Regions from separate parts of the Homo sapiens genome. Here all the other regions are linked to region 2. Evidence: promoter capture Hi-C in human tissues and cell types (Jung and others, 2019). All regions are on one chromosome and are shown on one strand. The core of a region is centred on a gene start or on the middle of the fragment in contact, and the rest is flanking DNA. Distances in the headings are between cores, read along the strand shown.

Evidence for each region. Contacts are between HindIII fragments. The study calls those that stand out against the background at their distance.
Region 1: a fragment that was not itself captured here is called in contact with the fragment with the promoter of F13A1 in region 2 in 6 of the 25 tissues and cell types used here (aorta, dorsolateral prefrontal cortex, hippocampus and 3 more).
Region 3: a fragment that was not itself captured here is called in contact with the fragment with the promoter of F13A1 in region 2 in 3 of the 25 tissues and cell types used here (mesenchymal stem cells, mesendoderm cells and ovary).

Annotation. Positions count from the first base shown.
Region 1 is chr6:6,417,212-6,420,475 of GRCh38, forward strand. All of the region lies in intron 4 of LY86-AS1 (LY86 antisense RNA 1), which reads right to left. Among named protein-coding and RNA genes, the nearest start is that of F13A1, 98 kb to the left of the region's middle. The HindIII fragment of the contact is 7,946 bases long and covers 1-3,264 here.
Region 2 is chr6:6,319,059-6,322,050 of GRCh38, forward strand. It overlaps F13A1 (coagulation factor XIII A chain), which reads right to left and starts at 1,604. Exons shown (of 15, transcript NM_000129.4): 1 at 1,529-1,604. All of the region lies in intron 1 of LOC124901253 (a long non-coding RNA gene), which reads left to right. The HindIII fragment of the contact is 8,313 bases long and covers 1-2,992 here.
Region 3 is chr6:6,241,715-6,244,872 of GRCh38, forward strand. The region is part of intron 6 of F13A1 (coagulation factor XIII A chain); the gene reads right to left. Among named protein-coding and RNA genes, the nearest start is that of MIR7853, 74 kb to the left of the region's middle. The HindIII fragment of the contact is 3,808 bases long and covers 1-3,158 here.

The DNA of each region.
Region 1 (3,264 bases), core at 168-2,667, 98 kb after region 2:
CTGGGAAACTGGACCACTTGCCAGAAGCAGGGCCCGGCCCCTCCAGCTCTGATTTTCAGTAGCCAATAGGACAAAATGGACTGCCAGAAGCTACGCATCTTGATGTCCAGGTGATGCTACCCTGTAAGCAACAAGCTTTTTAAAAAAATTCTGGAGTTTTACACATGCTCTGAAGAAAACAATCTTTTTGGATTTTTGCTTCAAGTCAGTGACATCTTTGATGGAGCTGGGTAATTGGAAAAGGGATTTAAATATGTCTGGAGGTTTCCCACACTGTAGAATTTGCAAACACTGTACGGAATCCGTAAGCAAACAGAATTTACAAAGAACCTCTCCCCTCTGGAATTATTCAAGGATCCAGTTTGAAGAGATTTTAGTTTATTTTGAGGTGATGCCAGAAGGCCTTGAAAAGAAGAACAAAGCAGAGTGGGGTGTGGTGTGGCGGGGAGGGACAGAGGGTGGGAGTCAGGGAGTGTCACTTTCTGGTAGAGAAAAAAAGACTGGTATGATCACCCATCTGTGATGGTGACAGAGCAGTTAAAAGGAAAAGCTCTAGGGATGAGGCTGCCCTAGAGTCATTGTTAACGCGTGCGTGTGTTTGTGTGTGAGTGCACATTGCGTGTTTCTAAAACACATTCTCTTTTAATTCATTAAGCAGAGAGAATATTCTTTGAACAACCTGCTCATTTTCCTGCATAGAAGCTATTGCTGGACACACAGAACCCTGCATACCTGTGCACACACATGTGTAGAGGCACTCAGTTCCATCTGGAGGTGGACCATTCATTCACAACGCCTTACACTCGCAACCATTTAAACTGCTTAGAAATGCCTAGGGACCCTCCACCCACCACTCCCACTATGGACTCCAAGAGACTGCACTTCACAGTCTCTGGAGTGATTTTTTAAATAAACATTTTTCATTTTAAAATAGTTTTAGATTTACAGAAAAAAATTGAGAAGATAGTACAGAGAGCCTCCATATACTCCACACATTCATTTCCCCCTATTTATTTACATATTTATGATTATTTATTTATTTTAAGAGAGGGTCTACCTCTGTCACCCAGGCTAGAGTGCAGTGACACAAGCATGGCTAAATGCAGCCTTGAACTCCTGAGCTCAAGCCTTCTTCTTGCCTTGACCTCTGAAAGTGCTGGGATTACAGGTGCAAGTAATTGCACCAGACCCTCCCTTATTATTATCTTACCTCAGTATGATGCATTTGTTGCAATTAATGAACCAATATTGATAGATTATTATGAACTGAAGTTCATACTTAGTTTTTACTTAAAGTCCTTTTTCTGCACCAGGATCCCATCCAGGATACCCCATTATATTTAGTCCTCTTATCTCCTTAGGTTCCTCTTGGCTGTGACCGTTTCTCAGAGTTTCCTTGTTTTTTGATGACCTTGACAGTTTTGAAAAGTACCGGTCAACCGTTTTGTAGAATATCCTTCAACCAGGATTTTTCTGACATCTGTCTTGTGATTAGGCTGGAATTGTGGATTTAAGAGAGGAAGACCATGGAGGCAAGATGCCATTGTCATCCTACTACAACAAGGATACATGATATCAATGTCTTTTCACTGTTGACATTGGCCTTCATCACCTGACAGGGTAGTGTTTGTCAGGCTTCTCCAATGCACGCCATGCTCTTTGGAAGGAACTTACCGTGTGCAGCCTGCACTTAAAGAGTGGAGAACTATGCTTACCTTTCTTGAGGGGAGAGTATCTACCTAAATTAATTCTGCATGGGACATGTGTCTGTTTTTCTCCAGTTATTTATTTATTCAATCAATAATTTATTTATACTAGTATGCACTCATCAATATTTACTTTATGCTTTAGTTTATATTCCATACTACTTTACTTTGTTGCTCAAAATAAAGTTTTGGCCACTGGGAGCTCTTTTAATTCACTCCTGTGTCTCTTTGACACCCTTCTCCCACCCACCCCAAACCTTGCGATATTATGGCTTAAAAAAAATACTTCCATTACTTTCTAGAGCTACAAGATATTTCAAGTTCATCTTGTCTATTTCCTGTCCCGGTCCTAGAATTATTATTTCCCTGAGGAGCCCTGGTTTCTTTTATTGAAGACTATTAATATTAGAAAACAAGATCTGGGCACTAGGTGTGCTCACTGCTACTGGGGTATACCCACAGCCCTTCTTCTAGACCTCTCAGCTGACAGAGCAAGGGTATATATGTGTGCACACTAACCTTCTTATATGCATATATCTATAACTATTGCTTTATGTAACCATCTGTAACCTATATTAAGCTAATTATGATGTCTCCTCTGAGGGATTTTAAAATGTAGAATATTGCTTAAAAATTAGATCTATTTCTTAGAAAGAACATTCTAAGAGGATTCTAATCTAGACTATTAGAGGAAGAAACTTGAACCACAGATATCTGTATAAATGTGTTTCAGAAGGTCAAGGCCTGATTAAGCTAGTGGCAGAGTATATCCTAAGACCTTGAATAGCCAACAGATGGAATTAAGCAGTTTTAAAAAATAAGGCTTATTGTCATTGTTAAGAATTTGCTTCCACTAAACTTTGTATTTTTTACCCCTTAGAAGTCACAGATGTGAATTCACCACTTTTTTAAATTTTTCAAATATTTTATTTGGCTTTTTATAAAATAGAATATTTTTTAGAGCAGCTTTAGCTTCACAGCAAAATTGAGTGGAAGGTACGAAGATTTTCCATATACCCCCTACCCTCACACATGCACACCCAACTTTGTGGCTTGCTGGGTTAGATAACACCCAGTTCATGATGAGCAGCTCAGGTCTCATGGTAACTTGGTGGCCCATGGCTAAGTGTTCAGTTTCTTTTATGACCCAGTGACAACCCAAGAACTGACTTTCAAAAGGAGAGCAGTTACCTGCAGATGGTGGAAGGGCCTTGCTCCAAAATCTTAAAGGCCTGCCCTGTGATTCTTCTATAGGTGCCTACCAAAGGCCTCAAACAGCATCCTTGTCTGCCACTAGCACCTCAAGCACCATTGGATCTGCTGGATCATATGTCCCAAGTGAAAGAGCAGCTTGCACAGCAGCCTGCACCTGTTGCAGAGCCTTCTCCTGTTCTGGTCCCCATTCAAAACTAGCAGCTGTTAGGGTCACTTGGCAAATGGTTCAGATTAACATGCCCAAATTACGAATGTGTTGCCTCCAAAACCCAAGTAGGCCCACTAAGCATTGTGCCTCTTTCTGGGTTGTAGGAGGGACCAGATGCAACAGCTTATCCTTGAT
Region 2 (2,992 bases), core at 354-2,853:
TCATTTCATACAGATTTATGAGATTATAAGTCACTTTTAAGAATAAACGCACACAACCATGTCCAGACAAATGTTGTCTTCTAAAGCGTTTACATTTGCAATTTAATTCAACCAATATTTATTGAGGGCCTATGACATGCCAGGCTGTGATCTAGGTACATGGGATACATCAGAGAACAAAACAGAATGTTTGCTCTGATAGATTATAGTCTGATAGGGTTAGGGTGGAGCCCAAGAAGAGCCATAAGTAAATCCACTTAGGGGTGAGGAGGTAGGAACTGCTTTGGAAATTGAGCCACATGGAGGAGGATAAGGAGGTGGAGAGGTTGGGCATGCAATTTTCAATAGGGCTATCAATAGGCTTAAGAAGTCAGGGTTGCCAACATTTCCCATTCCCCAAGCCTGCTTCCCCTTCCCTTGGAGCTTGTGCAGGCACTGAGCCAGTTTAAACAACACACACCTGACGGTCAGTGCCCAGTAAGTACTTGTTGACCAAATGACCAAATGAAGGGGGACTTTGTTTCTGGGCCCAGTGAAGGTTCCCCCTTGATCCCCTGGATTACCCAGTCATGACTCCTGGAGACTTGGCTATTTTCAAAAACCAGGCACACCCCCAAGAGGTGAAGAGTCCCCATTATAGAGGCCACCAGAGTAGAGAGATGGTTCCAGAGACATGTGGAGCACTAACAACATGCTGGAGAAAAGACAACCACGCCTAAGGTGTCTGGTCTGAGAAGGAGACAGGAGTGTTTGGATGCATAAGGTGTGAATGGGTATCCATAAGTATAGATAAATATATTTACAGTCATTGGTGAGCTGACGGGGGAAGGGAGGGAGAAGAGCGAAAAAGGGTTAATGATAGGGAGAAGGCTGCGAGAGCCATCCTCTAGTGAGAAATACCGAAGGTAGGCTGCGGCATTGCCAGGGGTGCAGAACAGTGTGGCGCGCTGTCGGGAGACACAGTGCTAAGGGGGAGAAGGGGGGAGCCCCAGGTGCACGCCTGGCTGGGTGAGTGCGGCGGGCAGGAGCCCTCGCTTCTGGGCGGGTCTAAGGAGGAGAAGTGGCTCGAGTTCAGCTCCAAATTGGGACGGAGGCAGGCGATGCGCAGGAGTGGGGAGGCGCGCAGGAGTGGGGAGCCAAGCCGGCGGGGTTCCAGTCTAGCAGGCTGTTCTCACTTGGCCCCACTCCCTCCACCTTTTGTGTTCCAGCTCCATAATCTGCTCCCTGAGGAAAGGGGGCTCGTCCCTTGGGGAAGCACCTCCAACTCCCCCATCCCCATTTGGTGGCATTCTAAGCAAGCAACGGCTTCGGGAGAGCTGCCTCGAGAGCCTGAGAGAAGTCCCGCTTAGAAGCTGGGCTGGGCAGGTGCGGAGTTGGGGGCGGGAAGCCAGGATTGGGCAAGTGGAGCTGCCTGTGACCGGCGCCACAGGGCCCAGAGCAAGCCGCTTGCTGGTTCAACCAGGAAACCGAGGTGCAGAAGGTGGACGCAGCGGGCCCTGGCTCATAGGGTGCAGGGTCGGTGGCTTACCTGCAGGCGCTCCCCTCCAGAGGTGCCCTCGCGTGGGCTTGCTCTGTGCGCCTCGGGGACTTCCTCAAACGGACTCGGGAAAGACAAGACAGTTGGCTCTTAAATAACTTCCTAAGAGGAGCCCTCACCCTCCTCCCCTGTCCCACAGGGTTTTCTCCTCCCCCTTCTCCACAGCTGGAGCCAGTAGGGGAGCTCAGAGGATTTTCTATTTACTTCATCTGGCCTGTTATCCCGGCAGGTGCGCCCTTCTCTCCCACTTGCCCCTCTGACTCCCAATTTCCCATTCCCACTTCTCCTCCCCATCCCCATCCCTAGATCTGCCCTCCCCACCGCAACCAGTTGCTGGGAGTACCAGGCAAGGGGCCCTGCAGTGCCAGGAAGTCCCCACCCGTCCCCTTTGGTCAGAGGGTCTGGGAGGGTTTCCTTTACAAAGGAATGCTTTTGCCTGGCAGGTCAGCTGCTACTGTGGCTTGGCAGGAGGGGGGTCTGCCCTCCCACAGACAGGTCACACAGACAGTTGTGACCATGCATGCAGTGAGAGCAACGTGTCCCTCCTGTGCAAATAAGGCATGGTCTGCATTCCTGAATCATCCCAGAGCCACAGCCACCGCCTAACCACAAGACTTCCTGCAGGAATGGGATGCCTAGCCCCAAGGAAGATGAGTAAACATCTTTAATAATGCCATGCAGATTAGAAAATAACACTTGGTTTTCTCTGAAAATCATTTTAGTGCATGTTCAAAAATTAGAAAATTTTCCCCCTAAAATTTTAATTTTTTTCTTTTACTCTTTCTTTCTTTCTTTCTTTCATCTTTCTATCTTTCAGATGAAGTCTTGCTCTGTTGCAAAGGCTGGAGTGCAACCTCCACCTCCCGGGTTCAAGTGATTCTTCTGCCTCAGCCTCCCAAGTAGCTGGAACTACAGGTGCATGCCACCATGCCCGCCTAATTTTTGTATTTTTAGTAGAGATGGGGCTTTACCATGTTGGCCAGGCTGGTCTCGAACTTCTGACCTCAGGTGATCCACCCTCCTTGGCTTCCCAAAGTGTTGGGATTACAGGCGTGAGCCACCGCACCCAGTCAAACATGGCTATTTCTAACCTTCTTTACTGTCTTCAAATTTCTGACCCTGCCACTCAATCTCCCAATGTTATAAAGAAGAAAAAAAAAGATGCCATTGGTTAGAAATTCTCTCAATTTTCTGCTACCAATCTATGAACCTGCCTGCAACCTTATCTATCTTTTCCTCTTTCTTCTTGTTACTGAAGTTGGAAAGGTCCCTCCTCCCTCTGCATCTCCAAACCAGGCTTCTGCGTTGCCTTGTTCTCCGGGGCTTTGCTGTGACTCTTACGTACTCTTCCTCTTGCAGCTTCAAGCTCCTGCTTGCTAATAGTGGGTCTTCTCAGCATTCATGCAATTTCAGGTCTCTTCAGTATTTTTTTAAAAACCTCCCCCAACCTATGTC
Region 3 (3,158 bases), core at 31-2,530, 78 kb before region 2:
CTGTTACGAAAGTACCTTGTGACTGGTCTGTATGATCAAGGAATAAACTTTAGAAATAAATACAAACTTTATATATTTATTTCTGTCTTTACAGTTCATTTGGGATGACTCAGGTGTGAAATTTCTAATCAAAGTGAACTTTTAAATGTAATCTGAATATTTATAATTAAGGTTTGTTGCATGAAGAGGTTTGCTCAACGTGAAGCTTCCTATAAGATGACCAAGTAAACAATTGAAAGAAAATGAACAAAACATGGTTTTATAGTTAACCCCTTGAGGAGCTGCTTGGCAAGATATAAAAGTAGTTATGTCATTACTGTCTTTTTCATGCATGGAAAGAAAAAAATCTTTCTAAATACTGGGACAAAAAGAGGGGGAGGAAAAGATGGACAAAGGGAAAATAACTTTATTTTCTGTTTATCTGTAGGATCACAGATGCATGAGGATCAGAAGCACTAAAGTCCATTTCATCTCAAAGGTCTACAGTCATTCATCTTGTACTGTGTCCTAGAAAAATCCAGGACCTACTCCGAATTGTGGTCAGTTTGATTTACTAGCTGAAGTTCAAGATTTTTTTACAATGCTAAAGAGTACATCGAACATCGATTGGTTAAAAAAGTTTAGTCATGAGTTAGTTCCCAAAAGGCATAGTCAGAGCAAAGTATTAATGGGGATTAATGATGGCATTGTGGTTCGATATTAGCAAAAGGCCAGGGTTAAAAATAAATGCATACATCTCAAGGGAAGCTGGATAGTCCAGGATGGCAGCAGTACAAACACTGAAATTTAAAAATATGTAACTATATTGACGTTTTTTTCTCTCCTCCTACTTTCCTAATTTTCTCATTAATATTACCTTTTTTCTTACTACAACTGAATCAGAATACCATGGATCAAGTAACTGTAAATGTTGAGATCCTATGGAATAAACTTCAGTTGTGTCAACCTTAGTTTTCTGAATTGCAAAACAAACAAGCCCCCAGAAGAGCAAATAACCCTCTACTACATTTTTCTTCAGTGCTTTTGGTGACTAGCTGTTTGTATATAATTTCCACCATGGAGAAAGGGTTTCTTCAAATAATAGCATGGTTAATTACTGTGGGACCTCAGACATTCTTCTATCTTTTGATCCAATGTTTAGTCCTGGGAAACCTTTGAGCTACATTTGAGAGATTTGCTTTCCCATACAACCCTATGCTTATTTCCATCACAGAATTTGCCATGCTGAGCTAAAATTTTCTATTTACTAGTCTGTGTTCTCTGTTAGACTGTAAGCTTTGTGAAGGCAGAAACTTAATTTTGTTCACAATTGTACTCCAGTGTTCAGACTGGTAGATTGCCATAAACATTTGTCAAACAAATGAGTAAATACTGAGTGTTTTACCACCATCACCACCACCACTACCACTATCACCACCATCATAAATCACCACCACCACCACATTACGCCATCACCACCACTACCACCATCACTCCCACCACCATCACTCCTACCATCACCACCACCATCACCGTCACCATCTCCACCACCACCATCACCATCATCATCACTATCACCACCATAATCACCCTACCATCACCACCATTATTATCACAATCACTATCACCACCACCGTCACCACCACCATCATCACTAACTCTATCACCACCACCACCAAACACCACCACCATTATCATATCATATTTGGTACCTGATCGTCTTTGGAAGCTCATTCTCCAGGGCCCCAGTGCCTATGGCTATTTAGAATCCTCTGATTGATACCTTTCTTCACTTATTCCCCATTTTCAATAATTTGCCTCATCTGGGCTCCATTCCCTTGGGGCTCTCTTCTTTTCTAGGAAATGGCAATTCAATCTTACATAATTATTGTGTTATTGGCAATAACGTGTTGATAGTGGCCCTCTAAGGTAATATGATCTGAGAGTAAGGACCATATCTGGTTTCAGCTCAGCCACTTATTTGCTGTGTGACTTTGAGTGAGGGACACCACTTCCAAGGGCTTCTGCTTCCTCACCCAGAAGACTCTTGGAGAGTCCTCCCCATTGCACACGCTGGTTCAGCATGTGTTTCGACACAGATCCTCCACTGGTAATGCCTTGACCCACTGGAGCAAATATGGATGGAGGTGGTACATGTAGGTGTGTCACAGTGAATAACGAGCCTTTATCTGCAGTAGCGGCAGCCTTTGCAGAAGCAGCTGCATCTCCTTGGGGGAAATTCTCTGCCCATAGTTGCTGCCAGATCCTATCAGTCGGGAGGCAGGAACAGGCATAGACAGGTAACCACGCCGCAGTAATGCCAGGTGGTTGCACAGCCTTCCCTTTTCCCCAGAACCATGCTGCCCTTGTCACAATATGTCACGGCCCACCTTCTTTGATAGTCTGACTCAGGGCTCAGAGTCCATGTCTGGCTTATTCACAGAAACTTGGGGCTAGCAATAGAATGCTTTATTAATGCCATGTGAGGGAAGTAAGTGTTCGGATGGCACAAAGTTAAGCATTCTCCTTAGCTTTCTCTGGCAATTTTCCTGGTGGGAACTGTCACATCAGAAATGCATTGAAAAGAAAGCAGCAATCAAGCAATGCAATTTAAAGGGAGAAGTATAACTGTGGGCAAGTTTCTTCATTTTTTCTAATTGCTTCTCTTTTTTTTCTTTTCTCTCTTAAATCAATCTGCAGTATAGCTTGGTAAAATGCACCACTCAGTATTTAAAGGAGCCTAAGCAAAAGTTAGCTTATGTAAGGTTATAATATCTCAGGCCTAATCTCTAGATGATGAGAATACAGGATTTTGGACTTGCTTTCTCCTGGGAAACTCCAATAGCCCCAGGCTGTCCAGATTGTCATAACTTTTCCTACTTTTACATCAAAGTGAAATAACAGCAACTCAATATAAGAACAAGGGAAGTTACTGAATGTATAAAGGAAAAAATAGAAGAAGGGAGAGCACTATTTTGAAGAATAAAAGAGTATTCTTGCTGCCAATGTGGTTTGAGTACAGAGACAAAATTTCACTTTAAAGACAAAGATGCGAGGCCAGCAGAGGTGAGTTATTTACCCTGGGTCACATAGTAAGTTAATAGCACAACCAGAATCAAGGTCCAATCCCTCGACACGAGCTGAGTCGCTTCCCATATGATGCTGCCTTCACTTTCTTT